5 separate regions of the Homo sapiens genome follow, and regions 1, 2, 3 and 4 are each linked to region 5. Evidence: promoter capture Hi-C in 16 types of primary human blood cells and fetal thymus (Javierre and others, 2016). All regions are on one chromosome and are shown on one strand. The core of a region is centred on a gene start or on the middle of the fragment in contact, and the rest is flanking DNA. Distances in the headings are between cores, read along the strand shown. Region 1 overlaps TRPS1 (transcriptional repressor GATA binding 1). Region 2 overlaps TRPS1 (transcriptional repressor GATA binding 1). Region 3 overlaps TRPS1 (transcriptional repressor GATA binding 1). Region 4 holds the start of EXT1 (exostosin glycosyltransferase 1). Region 5 holds the start of RAD21-AS1 (RAD21 antisense RNA 1).

What was found. Contacts are between HindIII fragments. The CHiCAGO score rates a contact against its expected background, and 5 or more counts as called.
Region 1: a fragment that was not itself captured here is called in contact with the fragment with the promoter of RAD21-AS1 in region 5 in 2 of 17 cell types (naive CD4 T cells and non-activated CD4 T cells); the score reaches 5.9 in naive CD4 T cells.
Region 2: a fragment that was not itself captured here is called in contact with the fragment with the promoter of RAD21-AS1 in region 5 in 1 of 17 cell types (neutrophils); the score reaches 5.1 in neutrophils.
Region 3: a contact is called between a fragment that was not itself captured here and the fragment with the promoter of RAD21-AS1 in region 5, in 1 of 17 cell types (neutrophils). The highest score is 5.1, in neutrophils.
Region 4: a contact is called between the fragment with the promoter of EXT1 here and the fragment with the promoter of RAD21-AS1 in region 5, in 6 of 17 cell types (naive CD8 T cells, total CD8 T cells, naive B cells and 3 more). The highest score is 9.7, in naive CD8 T cells.

The regions. Positions count from the first base shown.
Region 1 is chr8:115,655,956-115,658,655 of GRCh38, reverse strand. The region is part of intron 1 of TRPS1 (transcriptional repressor GATA binding 1); the gene reads left to right. Among named protein-coding and RNA genes, the nearest start is that of TRPS1, 12 kb to the left of the region's middle. RefSeq lists an enhancer at 200-494. The HindIII fragment of the contact is 958 bases long and covers 790-1,747 here.
Region 2 is chr8:115,424,983-115,427,682 of GRCh38, reverse strand. All of the region lies in intron 5 of TRPS1 (transcriptional repressor GATA binding 1), which reads left to right. Among named protein-coding and RNA genes, the nearest start is that of TRPS1-AS1, 83 kb to the left of the region's middle. The HindIII fragment of the contact is 3,991 bases long and covers 1-2,700 here.
Region 3 is chr8:115,442,320-115,445,128 of GRCh38, reverse strand. The region is part of intron 5 of TRPS1 (transcriptional repressor GATA binding 1); the gene reads left to right. Among named protein-coding and RNA genes, the nearest start is that of TRPS1-AS1, 66 kb to the left of the region's middle. The HindIII fragment of the contact is 3,221 bases long and covers 1-2,809 here.
Region 4 is chr8:118,110,478-118,113,177 of GRCh38, reverse strand. EXT1 (exostosin glycosyltransferase 1) reads left to right here and starts at 1,352. Exons shown (of 11, transcript NM_000127.3): 1 at 1,352-2,700. The coding sequence starts at 2,132. RefSeq lists silencers at 930-1,309, 1,410-1,499. The HindIII fragment of the contact is 5,337 bases long and covers 559-2,700 here.
Region 5 is chr8:116,873,154-116,875,853 of GRCh38, reverse strand. RAD21-AS1 (RAD21 antisense RNA 1) reads right to left here and starts at 1,430. Exons shown (of 2, transcript NR_033886.1): 1 at 869-1,430; 2 at 1-433. It overlaps RAD21 (RAD21 cohesin complex component), which reads left to right and starts at 1,078. Exons shown (of 14, transcript NM_006265.3): 1 at 1,078-1,243. It overlaps MIR3610 (microRNA 3610), which reads left to right and starts at 1,054; the gene lies at 1,054-1,126. RefSeq lists an enhancer at 1,081-1,130 and silencers at 1,241-1,560, 1,721-1,770. The HindIII fragment of the contact is 5,133 bases long and covers 1-2,700 here.

The sequences.
Region 1 (2,700 bases), core at 19-2,518, 1.2 Mb after region 5:
TATTCTTCTCACTTCCTGAACGATTCAGTGTGTCCTTGGCAATACTAACACTTTAAAAATGAGAGTAATAATGATTAGAGCTGGAGAACTGGGGGTAGATAGTAGTATTAGCAGGTTTCCCTCCTTTTAATTTTTCCCATTTTCAGTTCCTTCTTTAAAAGAGAGATGTATATATATCTGAACAGAAGGGGGACTAGGATACTGTATAATCCATGATAACATAAGGAACGGTTGCTGCATATGGCTTTATTTATATATCTCTGACATAGAAAACTTTGACCCCTTTGCCTGTTGTACTTGGGAATTTTAGATAAACCCCACTGGGGTCACACTCATCAGTTCCGGCTTTGCGTGACTCAAGGCATTCTCTAGCTTCTGGTGCGCTACTGTGCTGTTTTCCTTCAGGAGTGGAAGGTCCTGTAAGTTCATTTGGCATTTGGAAGCACAACTAGATTTCTTCCTTTTTGAAAATCCTCTGACTGGGTTACAGAAGAGTAAGCAGAGATCATGGGCAGCATGATGTCGTTGATTTTAGGATGCTAAAGAAAATTATGCTGAGACCAAGCATGCTTCCTCTGGCTTATTCTGCCCTGCTTTATCATCATTTTTTTCTTTTTTTCAACTTCCTACCCCTCTTCCCCCTACACTGTTTGGGGTCTAATATTTTAGTTTCTGGAGGAGTAAGGATTTGCCTTCTCAGTGGAAAAATGTGTAAGCTGCAGGATTTTTACCTACCTTTCTTTATAACTTTTCCATTCTGGGGACAGTGTCTAAGAAGAGGAAAAAGCTTACATACTTTATTTTATTTTATTTTATTGTTTGCTATTGAGTAGGAGTTTGCTATTCCATTTCTATGTGGAAATGCGTTGCATGGAATTAAATAAAGTTGTATAATTTTGAAACAATTATAAGCACCAACTGTGACATAGTTCTGGCTTTTAAAAAAAGTCAATTTTAGTTATGCAGTACTTCCACCAAACTCTCTATTCCAAGTTTATAAATGTGAATTTGACCATTCGACCATGGATGATGCTTGAAAGTCATGTTTTCTGGATTTAGGGCAGAAGAATACTTGAAAGATTCTCACCATCAGTATGTTTTAGATTCCCAAGAGGTACAATGCCAAGTGTCATGTTATCAACTCTTTGAGGTCTACAGTAAGGAGTTTACTTGTTTCTGGTAGCTTATAAATTCAATAACATCAGTCACAGGCTTCTTAACGTATTTATGAGTTGAGCTAGTGTAGTTCAATAAATGATTGTACTTCCATCAAGTCGAGGGAGTAACGCAAACTAGAATAGTAGCCATCTATTAAGGATAGTTCTGAGGTTTGGAATTTGTAACTGATTTTTAGGAGCTACGACATGAATATCATATCAGGTAGAAATACTCAGAGTGATCACCTTTTATGAAAGTTAGTTCTATCTTTCATGTCTAGGAAAATATAACAGTGAATGTTTGCTTTTTGTATGTTTTGTCTCCAAGCAGAGGAAACTGACAGTTTTATGTTTTAAGTGCCGAAAGTTGTTTTTGGCTAGGCAGTTCCAGAGTTAATCACTGGGATGTTAACTTGAATTTTTGTCTTTAAAATGTTTTAGATTTTTAAAACGAAATATGCTTCCATTATTTCCAAACTGACACCTTGTGTTCTGGATTAGTTTTTAGAGAAATGTTTTCCAAATTCTCTTGGATTACTTGAAGTCCATTGATTTTGAAATATTTAGTTTAGTTTTTTTCTTTTAAAGCTTATCAGAAAGTAGAGGAAGTACTTTATCTTTTCGGGGTTTTCTTATTCCAGAAACCTTGTTATTGCCTGTAAAATGCAAATGAATTTTGCACTTATTTTGTTTTATTTTCTCTTGTGTTTTCAGAAATGTTTTGATGCATCAGAAATTGAGAGATCAGTGATTTCAGTTCTCCTGTCACACCTTTTTATGATAAAATATTTTGGTCATTTCTAAGGAGTAGTTAGAGGGAAATCCTTTCATAAATCATTTTCACTTCAAAAAAACAGTGATGTTGGAAAATCATATAGTATTCTTTGTGATTAGTTGAAAATTATGAATGGTGTAAAATAATATGACATTTAATTGTTTCTCATTTAGACATGATGCATTTTATATCTCAAAATTTGATGGGAGGAAAAAGAAAAAAAAGAACTCACAACTTTTACCAGGTTTGAAACTAGCTTAAGATAGTTCTGTGGAATTCTCCAAAAGTGATAAGAAAATTTAAAATACTGCCCAGACACAGGGTTAAAAATTAAATCTGTATGTAGAGTGGAGACTTTAATCTGACATATTTTAATGTAAAGACATTTTAGAATAAAGAAAGCTTTCTCTGGTTTTGTCGGCTGTTTTTGTTTTTCGACTGCTTTGCATGAGACGATCGGCATTCTTAAATTATAATTATGTGTAAAAACAAATAAGCTGCTACTGTAAAAAGTAACAGCTCTGCACATATATCTTGAATACTACTAGAAAACATTTTCATTAGAGGAATAAATGCATTAGGCCCTAAATAAATTTAAGATACCAAATTGCAAACTTAGTATCTCTAATACATTACCCATGCTAGTCCCTGCAAAGTGGAATTGATTCTGAGAGAGCTCATTATTTCCGTTGCTAGTAGAGTGTATTTAACAATATTTTGGTGTCTCCACCGGTAGAAATGTGGACATTTCAACCAGCTATCCCCTTG
Region 2 (2,700 bases), core at 95-2,594, 1.4 Mb after region 5:
AGCGTTCTTTAAGGCCAGGATATGGTGTAATATTTTTGGTAAAAATTCCCCAATCTCCTCTTTAGTAATAAGGCCTGAAACATGGTTCACTGTGGCTTTGAAGTGAGGGCAACCTGGGTTTATATCTTAGCCCTACTATTCAGCAGTTGCAAATTGCTTCTAAGCCTCAGTTTTCTCATCTATAAAGTGGAGGGAATAATAATAATAATGATAATAATACTTGCCTCTTAGGATCATTCTGAGGATATCAGATAATGAGACTAGGCCTATCATATGTTATCCTGCAAACATATGTGCAATGATGATTATTTAAAAAGGGACAAAGATAGTCAAACAAGAGTATTCTATTAAATAGTTGATTCAAAAATTCTTTTTTATTTAATTAATTTTCTATTTATCTATTTTAGAGACAGTGTCTCGCTCTGTTGCCCAGGCTGGAGTACAGTGACATGATTATAGCTCACTACAGTCTAGAACCCCTGGGCTCAAACCATCCTCTCTCCTCAGCCTCCAGAGTAGCTCAGATTATAGATGCATACCACCACACCCAACTAATTTTTTTTTTAACTTTTTGTAGAGACACGTTCTTGCTGTGTTTGCCTTGGTTGATCTCAAGCTCCTAGCCTCAAGCAATCCTCCCACCTTGACCTCCCAAAGCACTGGGATTACAGGCATGAGCTACCACGCCTGGCCAAAAATGCTTTTTAGAATATGATCCTGTCATATTGCCTAGACTTAGAGACCAGAATGTGTTCTTTGATGCTAGATAAGTCAAAGAACTATTGTCAGTTTTGTACTTCATCAATAAAAGGAGAGTAATAGTAATTAGTAATTCACCGTAAATCTGAACTGGGATAATATGTGTTAGGAGTTCTTAACCTTGGGATCTGGATCAGTCGGCACTCAAATCCACAGGAAATCTTTGGATACATTTTGTGAGGGACATGCTTTTGACCATGTTAAAGTTATTTGTAAATATTTTACACTTTATTTTTTTCTGGAGAGTGTCATACATTTCACCAAAAGATTGTATGATCCCCAAGAGTGTGAGAAACCATCGAGGAACCACTGAATTGTATATAGCTGCCTCGAGGGTGGCAACACTTCATAAACCAGTTATTATGTTAGATACTATGAAAAGAATTATTGATTTTTTTTCTGTTTTTTCCCAAAATAACCATTATATATTATAAAGGCAGCCCTAAAAAGGTGTAATACATGAAATATTAATAACTGTATCTGACTCTCTAATTAAATGCCTAGAAGCTGAGACTTTTGGCTTTTAGGACTTTTCTAGAAAGGTCTTCATCGCTGATATTTTTATTTTTAGAATATGAACCTATCCCAGAATAAATCTGCTTATTAAATATATTATATAAATAAAATATGCAACAAATTTATTAGAAGAATCAACTCTTGTGCTGTCACACTGAAGTTTAAGAGGTGCTAAAATTGTTTAACTGTGCCTCCAAAAGGCCTTTTAGTATTTTTTTCCTTCCAGTGTCAGATTTTGGCACTGGCATAGAAGAAAGTCCCCATAGAGCTACTTTCCAGCCATTGTTGTAGCTGAAGGAAGGGTGAAAACACATACAGGATGGCAAAAATAGAAGCTCTGAGAGACTTGAGTAGTTCTTTTAACAATAATGACTTTCACGTGGAATGAAAAAAAAGACAGTGCAGACATAAATTTTCAACCATATTTTTAGCTGTCCAAATGCATATTTGCTGTAAAGGCAGAACATTATTACAGAAACAGCGTGGTTAGAACTCCAGAAATCTGGGTTTTTCCAATTCTGATTCTATTATGTAATTTCATTATGACACAGGGTGTTTGGTTTGCTCCTTTACCAAATACAGGGTTAGCTACCAAATATGGGGTTAGTTAAAGAAGGGAGATGGGGTCCTCAGATCTGTGTAATAGGTTTTATATCTGTGTGATAAATTTCTAAAACCTTGAGATGTAAAGAATCTGTATGAATAAAGAGTGGGATATACATGGGGAAATAGTGATTTTCTGCTCTTTCACTCTGAGAATCACCAGTTACATCTCAGAAGAGATGGAGCTAATGTGTTTAGCACAGCAGCATTACCTGATATATCGGGTAGCTCCCTATGTGGCGACATTGTCAGTGGGATAAGTCTTAGGTGCATTCATATCTCAGTGCAAGGTATGATTACTGGAGTATGTATTGCCTCATGTCCTGGAACAAAAACTGTTCTATTGCTCTTAGCCAGAGATGCCAGTTTAGTTTACACTGGTCTCCATTATCATTGCTGATGTGTTGAGGAAGTGAATTTAATAAGCAGGGTAAACAGGTTTTGTTTCCAAGCTCTATGGTGATTATAAGATGGGTGCTTGGCTGAACCTGATAGAGTCCCTTCAGTTTTTTGGCAAGAAATCTGAGGGCAAAGAGGACTGTTTTAAAGCAGGCAAAGACATGCAGTACAGCCCATTTCAACGGATTCTTCACAATTTTATTTGAAACAAAAGTTGGCCAGGATATTGGTAAACTATTGCTTTCTGTTGGCAGAGTGCTTTCCCTGGTCTTGTTCAATTGTTGGCCAGCCTGTGCTCCTGGTAAGAGTCTGGCTATTAATCTAAAGGTGTTTATTGCAAACCACCATCTATTTTTAAGTTGTTTTAGCTCCTGAATTCAGTATATTCCATAGGGTCTACTGGTGTGTAGTCAACAGCTGGTT
Region 3 (2,809 bases), core at 200-2,699, 1.4 Mb after region 5:
GAGGGAACTTAGAATAAACTAGTTTGACTGGGAGGGTTCAGAGAAGGGTGATGGGTAATTGAGGAATCTAGGTTATGAAGAGCCTTATGAATGTGGCACAAAGGATTTTGGAATTTATCCACTGAGTTGTGAAAAGATGAAAGTTATAAACGAAGACATGATATAATTAGGTTGTCTTCAGAAATTTAACCTAGAAATGATATCATTGGTGGATTGGAAAACAAAGACACAAGTGCAAGGAGCTATCCCCTCATAGAAGGAAAACCTCAATACTAGAAACAATCTACAGGACTTGGTGACTAATTGGATATGGTGGAGGAAGTTGGTGCCAATTTCAGGATGGTGGAGTCACACTGAATGATGAAAAGGGGAAGAAAATCATCTTTGTTGGAAAATACCATTTAAAAAAATTGTTGAGTTTTGAGATGATGAGACACAATTCATTTTATTAATTGAGGACTGATGATTTGAAAGACATACTGGGGAGACTCCCCCAAAAAAGGGTGCTCTTTGCCCTCTAGAAGCTCATAGGTTAGTGGGAGATATAGTCAAGTTTATAAACATTGTAGAAAAAGGTATACTTTGAAAATGTTAGAACTACCAATAAAATGAAATGAACAGATTGAAGACAGACAGAGATATCTTGAGGAGCTAAAAGAAGTACTTTGACCTGGACCTAAAAAGATGGATAGGAAGAACGTACATCAGTTGGATTCACTCTTCATTTATTTATTTAACGAAAATGTATTGAGCACCTGTTCTATTGTATGTACCATGTTGGACACCAGACATGATGGTAAGAAATCACATTCCTTATCAGAGCACCTGTTCTATTGTATGTACCATGTTGGACACCAGACATGATGGTAAGAAATCACATTCCTTATCAGAGCACCTGTTCTATTGTATGTACCATGTTGGACACCAGACATGATGGTAAGAAATCACATTCCTTATAAAAACTGGCAAGTACACAGTCTTTGTAGCTGGCATGTGATCCCATGTAGAGGGATCAAAGGGGTAAGGATGGGGGACCTTAGTGGAAGATAAGATGCTAATGATAAACTACATGGCGAAGGAGTGAGAGCCCTAGGTTGCTTTTCTCTAAATAATGGGGATCTTTAAATGTTTGGGGAGAGGTGAGATCTTCATTTTAGATCTATATTGAATACATTGTAAATCTATGTTTTTAGAAAGGTGACAAAATACTCAAGTTGAAGTATTTGTTTATAGATATATTAGACACTGAGATACATTTTATATGCTCATCCAAATGTTGGTGTCAGCCAGTCACAGGAGGTGTGGGATTGCTGAGTTTGAGTTTGAGGAAAGGATGGATTTCTGAAATGGAACGATCATAACCAATATTTATTGAGTACTTAATGTTATCCAATCACTGAATTAATTCCTTTAGTCCTCACCCCAGCCTGCTAGGTGGATGTCATTATTATATGCTTATACAGATGAAGACATTGCATTGAGGAGAGTCTAATCAACCTGCCCAAGGTCACATGGCTAGTTAGTGTCATAGGCAGGATTTGAACCCAGACCAGCAGGCTCCACTACCTCCAGACTACCAAGGCAGTAAAGACAGAAAGGCTTAGGATAATTAATATCAAAGGACTTGAAGGTTATTTTAGCAAAATTAATGCTGATGAGAACCGAGCAGATTGTGCAAATGTCAAGGCCAAGAGGTTTGTGGAGTGAGGAATACACCTTCTAAAGGAGGCAGTCACAGGCACCTCAGCTATGTCTTGCCATGTGAGAAAATGAACCTAGTAATATGAGACATTATAACTGTCAACAAAACCTAGAAAGTATAGATTTTTATGTCAAATCACCCACTTCTTTTCTTTTCAAGGAGACAGTCTCACTCTGTCACCCAGGCTGGAGTGCAGTGGCATGATGTCAGCTCACTGCAGCCTTTGCCTTCTGGGTTCAAGCGATTGTCCTGCCTCAGCCTCCCAAGTAGCTGGGACTACAGGAATATGCCACCACGTCCAGCTATTTTTTTTTCCTTTTTCTTTTTTTTTGAGATGGAGTCTCGCTCTGTCACACAGGCTGGAGTGCAGTGGCAAGATCTCGGCTCGCTGCAAGCTCCGCCTCCCAAGTTCACGCCATTCTCCTGCCTCAGCCTCTCTGGCAGCTGGGACTACAGGCGCCCGCCACCACGTCCGGCTAATTTTTTTTGTATTTTTTTTAGTAGAGATGGGTTTTCACCGTGTTAGCCAGGATGATCTCGATCTCCTGACGTCGTGATCCACCCGCCCCAGTCTCCCAAAGTGCTGGGATTACCGGCGTGAGCCACCGCGCCTGGCCTTTTTTTTTTAGTAGAGACAGGGTTTCACCATGTTGGTCAGGCTGGTCTCAAACTCCTGACTTCAAATGATCCGCCCGCCTCAGCATCCCAAAGTGCTGGAATTACAGGCGTGAGCCCCTGCGCCCAGTCAAATCACCCAATTTTTAAATGTTGATAACTTAAATTCTCATTTTGCACTATGCTGTGTAACCCCTTCCTTCCCCCAAACACACACATGCACACACACATACACACACACACACACACACACACACACACGCACCATACTTGGATGCTTGCTACCCAGATATGGACCTCTGTTCGCCAGCAAGAAGAAAGTATGTATGTACATTATATATGTATTAGTGCAGCCCCCTATTTATTGCCATAGACAGAATTAGAGAATTTTCCAAAGTAGTATCAACCTCACTGCAGTTTCCAATTTTAGGTGACAATTCATGCTTACCTTTCTTCCATATTCCTGCAAGCAAAAATAGAAAATTAAATGTA
Region 4 (2,700 bases), core at 103-2,602, 1.2 Mb before region 5:
AGCTCTCAGTCACTCCCATAATAAACAATCACTAAACAGCCGGCTGCCCTAGGCAACTGTCTAGCTTGCCCGAGCCCTGAGACTTTAGCTAGGCCAGAGGGTGGGAGGTGTTTTCTGTAAAGCAGTGTTCAGGATCTGAGGCCAGGGAGTTTGACTTTGACCAGAGATACTGTTTGGGAGCCTAGCACATCTTTGTGGACCTGGAGGATCTTTAGCGGGACTGCTCCTCGGTTACCTGAGTTATCTAATGAAGTTCTTCCACTGGGAGTGGCAGGAGCTTGGGCCAAGGAGTGGGAGGTCAGTGAGGGAAGGACCAACTATTTGGCACTAATTGTACATAAGGTAGTTTTCCTGATGCAAGTGTTCCTTCTATAGCTGGGACAGTTGGCAATTCTACCAGTCATATGTCCTTAAGAGATATCTTTAACACCACCACCACCACCACCACCACCAAGAGAATAACATCACTTTGAGGACTGGGGCAAGCTTAAATTAACTGGTTTCCCTGCAGCCATTAGAAAATTTATTTTTTCTCTGTGATTGGATCTCTTGGAAGCTTTCTTCATAATAGACAGAGGGGGCTCAGGCAAGGCGGCCTAAGTAGATAATGAGGATTTAGGATAGCCGTCTTACACTCTTAGCACAGAGGCAGGCATGAAGAATTGCAACAATTCCTCTTGATTGTAATAATTCCTCTTTATTGTTGGGCATTGGGGTGTTTCTTTGGTTTAAAAAAATGTGCTATGTAGAGGAGGAGTAAGGGGAGATTGTTTTAATGCTTAGCAGAAAATTGAAATACTGGGTCTCGGAGAGTGGAAGGAGGGCTGGGAGAGGCAGCTTTCGGATCGGCGGTCGCTTTCTATGAAGTCTTCCTTTCCTCCCTGCTTCCCTCCTTCAAAGCATCTTTCTCTAGGCGTTCCGGCAGGCAGCCCAGGAGGCCAGATTCTCCAGGGCGCCCGGGGCCGCGCGGCACGGGGCCCCTGCCGGTGCCTCCTTCCCCGGCCGCCGCGTTTCCGCAGGCGCCTCTGGTCCCCGGCACGGCGCAGGCCGAGATCCGGGCCTGGGCGCGCCGAGGGGCCGCGGGGCTCGCACCGGGCCGTCCCGCGCTCCACCTGCCCGGCAGCCCGCCGGCAGCTTGCAACCCGGGAGCCCCGGCTCCCTGCGCCCCCTACGCCCCCAACGCCGCGCCGGCGCCTCGGCCCGCGGCCGGGGGTTATGAATGGGCGCAGCGGAAGCACCGCCCCCCCCGGACGTGACGCTCGGCCAATGGCAGCGCGGGCTGCGTGGATGGATGAGGTCAGCGCTGTCGTGTCGGGAATGGAATGTGTAAGTGTAACATTCAGAACCGGGTAACATTCGGCGACCGAACGCGGCGGTCGGCAGCGTTCGCGCGGGGGCCTGCGAAGCGCTGCTCGGGGCCGGCACTGCCCGCGGGGAGGACGCGCCGCCGCCGCCACCCAGCGCCGCCGCCGCCGCCGCCTCCAGCCGGGCCGCCGCGCGTCCCGGGGGCCGGCCCCGCGAGCGCAGGAGTAAACACCGCCGGAGTCTTGGAGCCGCTGCAGAAGGGAATAAAGAGAGATGCAGGGATTTGTGAGGTTACGGCGCCCCAGCTGCAAGATGCACTAGCCGGCTGAACCCGGGATCGGCTGACTTGTTGGAACCGGAGTGCTCTGCACGGAGAGTGGTGGATGAGTTGAAGTTGCCTTCCCGGGGCTCATTTTCCACGCTGCCGAGAGGAATCCGAGAGGCAAGGCAATCACTTCGTCTTGCCATTGATTGGGTATCGGGAGCTTTTTTTTTCTCCCCTCTCTCTTTCTTTTCCTCCGTCTTGTTGCATGCAAGAAAATTACAGTCCGCTGCTCGCCCGCCCTGGGTGCGAGATATTCAGCCCCGCTCTCTCCCGTGCATTGTGCAACCCAAAGATGAAAGACCGAAGGGGAGAAAGTTAAAGAAATCGCCCACATGCGCTGGATCAGTCCACGGCTTGGGGAAAGGCATCCAGAGAAGGTGGGAGCGGAGAGTTTGAAGTCTTTACAGGCGGGAAGATGGCGGACTGGAGCTGAAAGTGTTGATTGGGAAACTTGGGTGATTCTTGTGTTTATTTACAATCCTCTTGACCCAGGCAGGACACATGCAGGCCAAAAAACGCTATTTCATCCTGCTCTCAGCTGGCTCTTGTCTCGCCCTTTTGTTTTATTTCGGAGGCTTGCAGTTTAGGGCATCGAGGAGCCACAGCCGGAGAGAAGAACACAGCGGTAGGAATGGCTTGCACCACCCCAGTCCGGATCATTTCTGGCCCCGCTTCCCGGACGCTCTGCGCCCCTTCGTTCCTTGGGATCAATTGGAAAACGAGGATTCCAGCGTGCACATTTCCCCCCGGCAGAAGCGAGATGCCAACTCCAGCATCTACAAAGGCAAGAAGTGCCGCATGGAGTCCTGCTTCGATTTCACCCTTTGCAAGAAAAACGGCTTCAAAGTCTACGTATACCCACAGCAAAAAGGGGAGAAAATCGCCGAAAGTTACCAAAACATTCTAGCGGCCATCGAGGGCTCCAGGTTCTACACCTCGGACCCCAGCCAGGCGTGCCTCTTTGTCCTGAGTCTGGATACTTTAGACAGAGACCAGTTGTCACCTCAGTATGTGCACAATTTGAGATCCAAAGTGCAGAGTCTCCACTTGTGGAACAATGGTAGGAATCA
Region 5 (2,700 bases), core at 181-2,680:
CTTTTCCCAACGTATGTTCTTGGCAGCTTTGTCAGAAATTAGTTGACTGTATATGTATTGATTTATTTATAGGTCCTCTATTCTGTTCCGTTAGTCTATGTGTCTGTTTTTATGCCAGCACCATGCTGTTTTGTTTACTATCACTTTGTAGTATAATTTGAAGTCAGGTAATGTGATGCCTCCAGCTTTATTCTTTTGCTCAGGATTGCTTTGGCTATTCTTGGTCTTATTGTGGTTCCATATAAATTTTAGGATTTTTTTCCTCTTTCTGTGAAGAATGTCATTGATATTTTGATAGGGATTACATTGAATCTGTAGATTGCTCTGGGTAGTATGGAAATTTTAACAATATTGATTCTTCCAATCCATGAACATGGAATATATTTCCATTTTTGTGTGTCCTCTTCAATTTCTTTCATCACTGGAAAGATCTCTACAATAAAAACAAAAGTAAATTTCTTCGTGGTACAAGTAAGTCTTTTAAGATAAGAAATTTTAAGATTCCTCCCAAGCAATACTGAAAATTTCCAAAAGGCAGTTATTATCTCTGTTATATTAATCATTATATCCAGAGCCCAACGTGTAGCAAACAGAAGACCCTCTATAATATAGGTTGACTGAATAAATGAACCTCTATATTTTATGGAATTAGTTTGAGGTTTTTATGTTACTTTCATCCCTATAGAGCCATAAAATGAATTTTTTGGTGGGGGCACACAAAATTGCACCACGACAGCTTTTTTCTTTAAAACAAGCACAAGAATAAAGCTAAACGCAAATATTCACCGCACTGGAAAGCACTGCGCGTGCGCTATCTTACGCTATTGGCTAACACCGCAACTCTCAAAGACCCTCGCAAGAGAATCACCTTTGCGCTTGCTCAGTTGTGGACTCCACAAACAGAGGGCGGGTTCCAAAGAAAAGGAAATAGTCATTGCGCCTGCGCCGCTCCTTCTGGGGGGAGGGGGGGGCTTGGGCTGGCTGCGCAGGCGCACAGGTACCATTTTGACCGTAAACATCCTGCCGATTTGAACCGAGGATTTGGGCGGCAGGAAGAGCCGCGGCGTAACGGCAGCCATCTTGTTTGTTTGAGTGAATCGGAAAGGAGGCGCCGGCTGTGGCGGCGGCGGGAGCTGCTCGGAAGCTACACCTCGCAAGGGCTCCCCCCTTTCCCCACCCCCTCCCCCGACCCTTTTCCCCTCCCCGGGCCACCCAGCCCGCCCAACTCCCAGCGGAGAGCAAGGTAAGAGACTCGGCCGACCCCTTCTTTTCCTCCAGCTCCCTCCCCCCACCCTTTCCCCGCCGCTCTGCCGTCGGGGAGCCGGACTCCTGGGGGCGGGAGGGCGAGGGAGAAGGCAGCCCTCGCCGCGCCCACGCGTGCTGCCACCCTCCCGGCGCCCAAGCGGCGGCGCCACCCGCCCAGCCCCCTTCGCCCCGGGCCCGCCCTCGGCCCGGACCCATGCAGCTTGGGCCCGCATCATCGCTTGTTCGGTAACAAATGATTCTGATCCATTCTGAGATCTACAAAGGCTGTTACCCTGCAGGTCCATCTCACGTCCCCCAGGAGGCCGGGGAAACCCTGGGCTGCGGAGGGAGGGGAGGAGGTTTGAACGAGCCCGCTCTGGGGACCGGGCCGCCTACTCCGCGGGTAAAAATGGCTGTCTGGGAGGAGGCGGTGGCGGGCCCGGCGCCCGCGGTGCCAGCCCCGGGAGCAGCAACCTTCCGCCGAACTCGGGTGCGGGGCTCAAGAAAGTGCGGAGCTGGTGGGGCTGGGCGGGGTGGGGCGGGGGGTCGGCGGGTGCCCCTCGGCCAGTGACTGCTGCTGCCCTCCCGTTTTAAAAAGATAATTTTTACGTTGGGAATGCTGAATATTTCACAGACGCGTGGAAAAAGAGACGGAGGGAAGTTGCTTCTTTTTCCAAGGATATTTGCATAATTGGTTTTCCCCTGAACTTTTCTGATCATTCTTTAAAGTGATTAAGGATATCGGGTGTTGTAGAGACGCTCTGGGGGAGGTGTGTGTTTCTGATAAATGCTTGATGCCCTTTTCGTCGCTGAAAAAGGCTTTTTGCGAATGATCCGCTTTGATAGTGTGGGGTGACACTGTCGGGTTGTGCTGCCAGACTTAGCGGCCTTCTTCAAATTTGTAAGAGGGAAACCCTGGGGGATTTACTTGGTCACTCTGATTTGTTAGTGTCTTCAGCGTGAAAAAAAAAACAGCGTTTGTGCGAAGAGTTTCTGGGAAAGGCTTGTGTTTATCGGCTTCTTTTTGCAAGGGAAAGTTAATCTTTGTTGTCATTATACTGGTTAGAAGAGTAATTGGTTTTCAGGCAAAAATTTCTATTTTCTTAAATTGGGTGTAAATGCCAGCGGGCAGTGCGAGTCTATAGAATTTTGGAGACAGGCAGGAGAAGGTTTCTCAAATCGTGAAGTCATTAAATACCTTTGTTAATGTCGGAGGCAACTAATTATTTTTGGAAAGGCATTGATGAGGACATACGCCATATCTGATCTTCAAATAAGTTAACAGTTTGTATAGTTGAGGTGACAGCAGTGCATAACTAATAGACATAGTGCTTTTTTTTATACACAAGTCAGAATTACAAAAGAATTTCTGGTGAATTATTTTGTGAAACATACAAATTCTAAGAAACGCTTTTACAGTTTGGTACAGAATGGAAATTTTCTAATTCTTGAGAA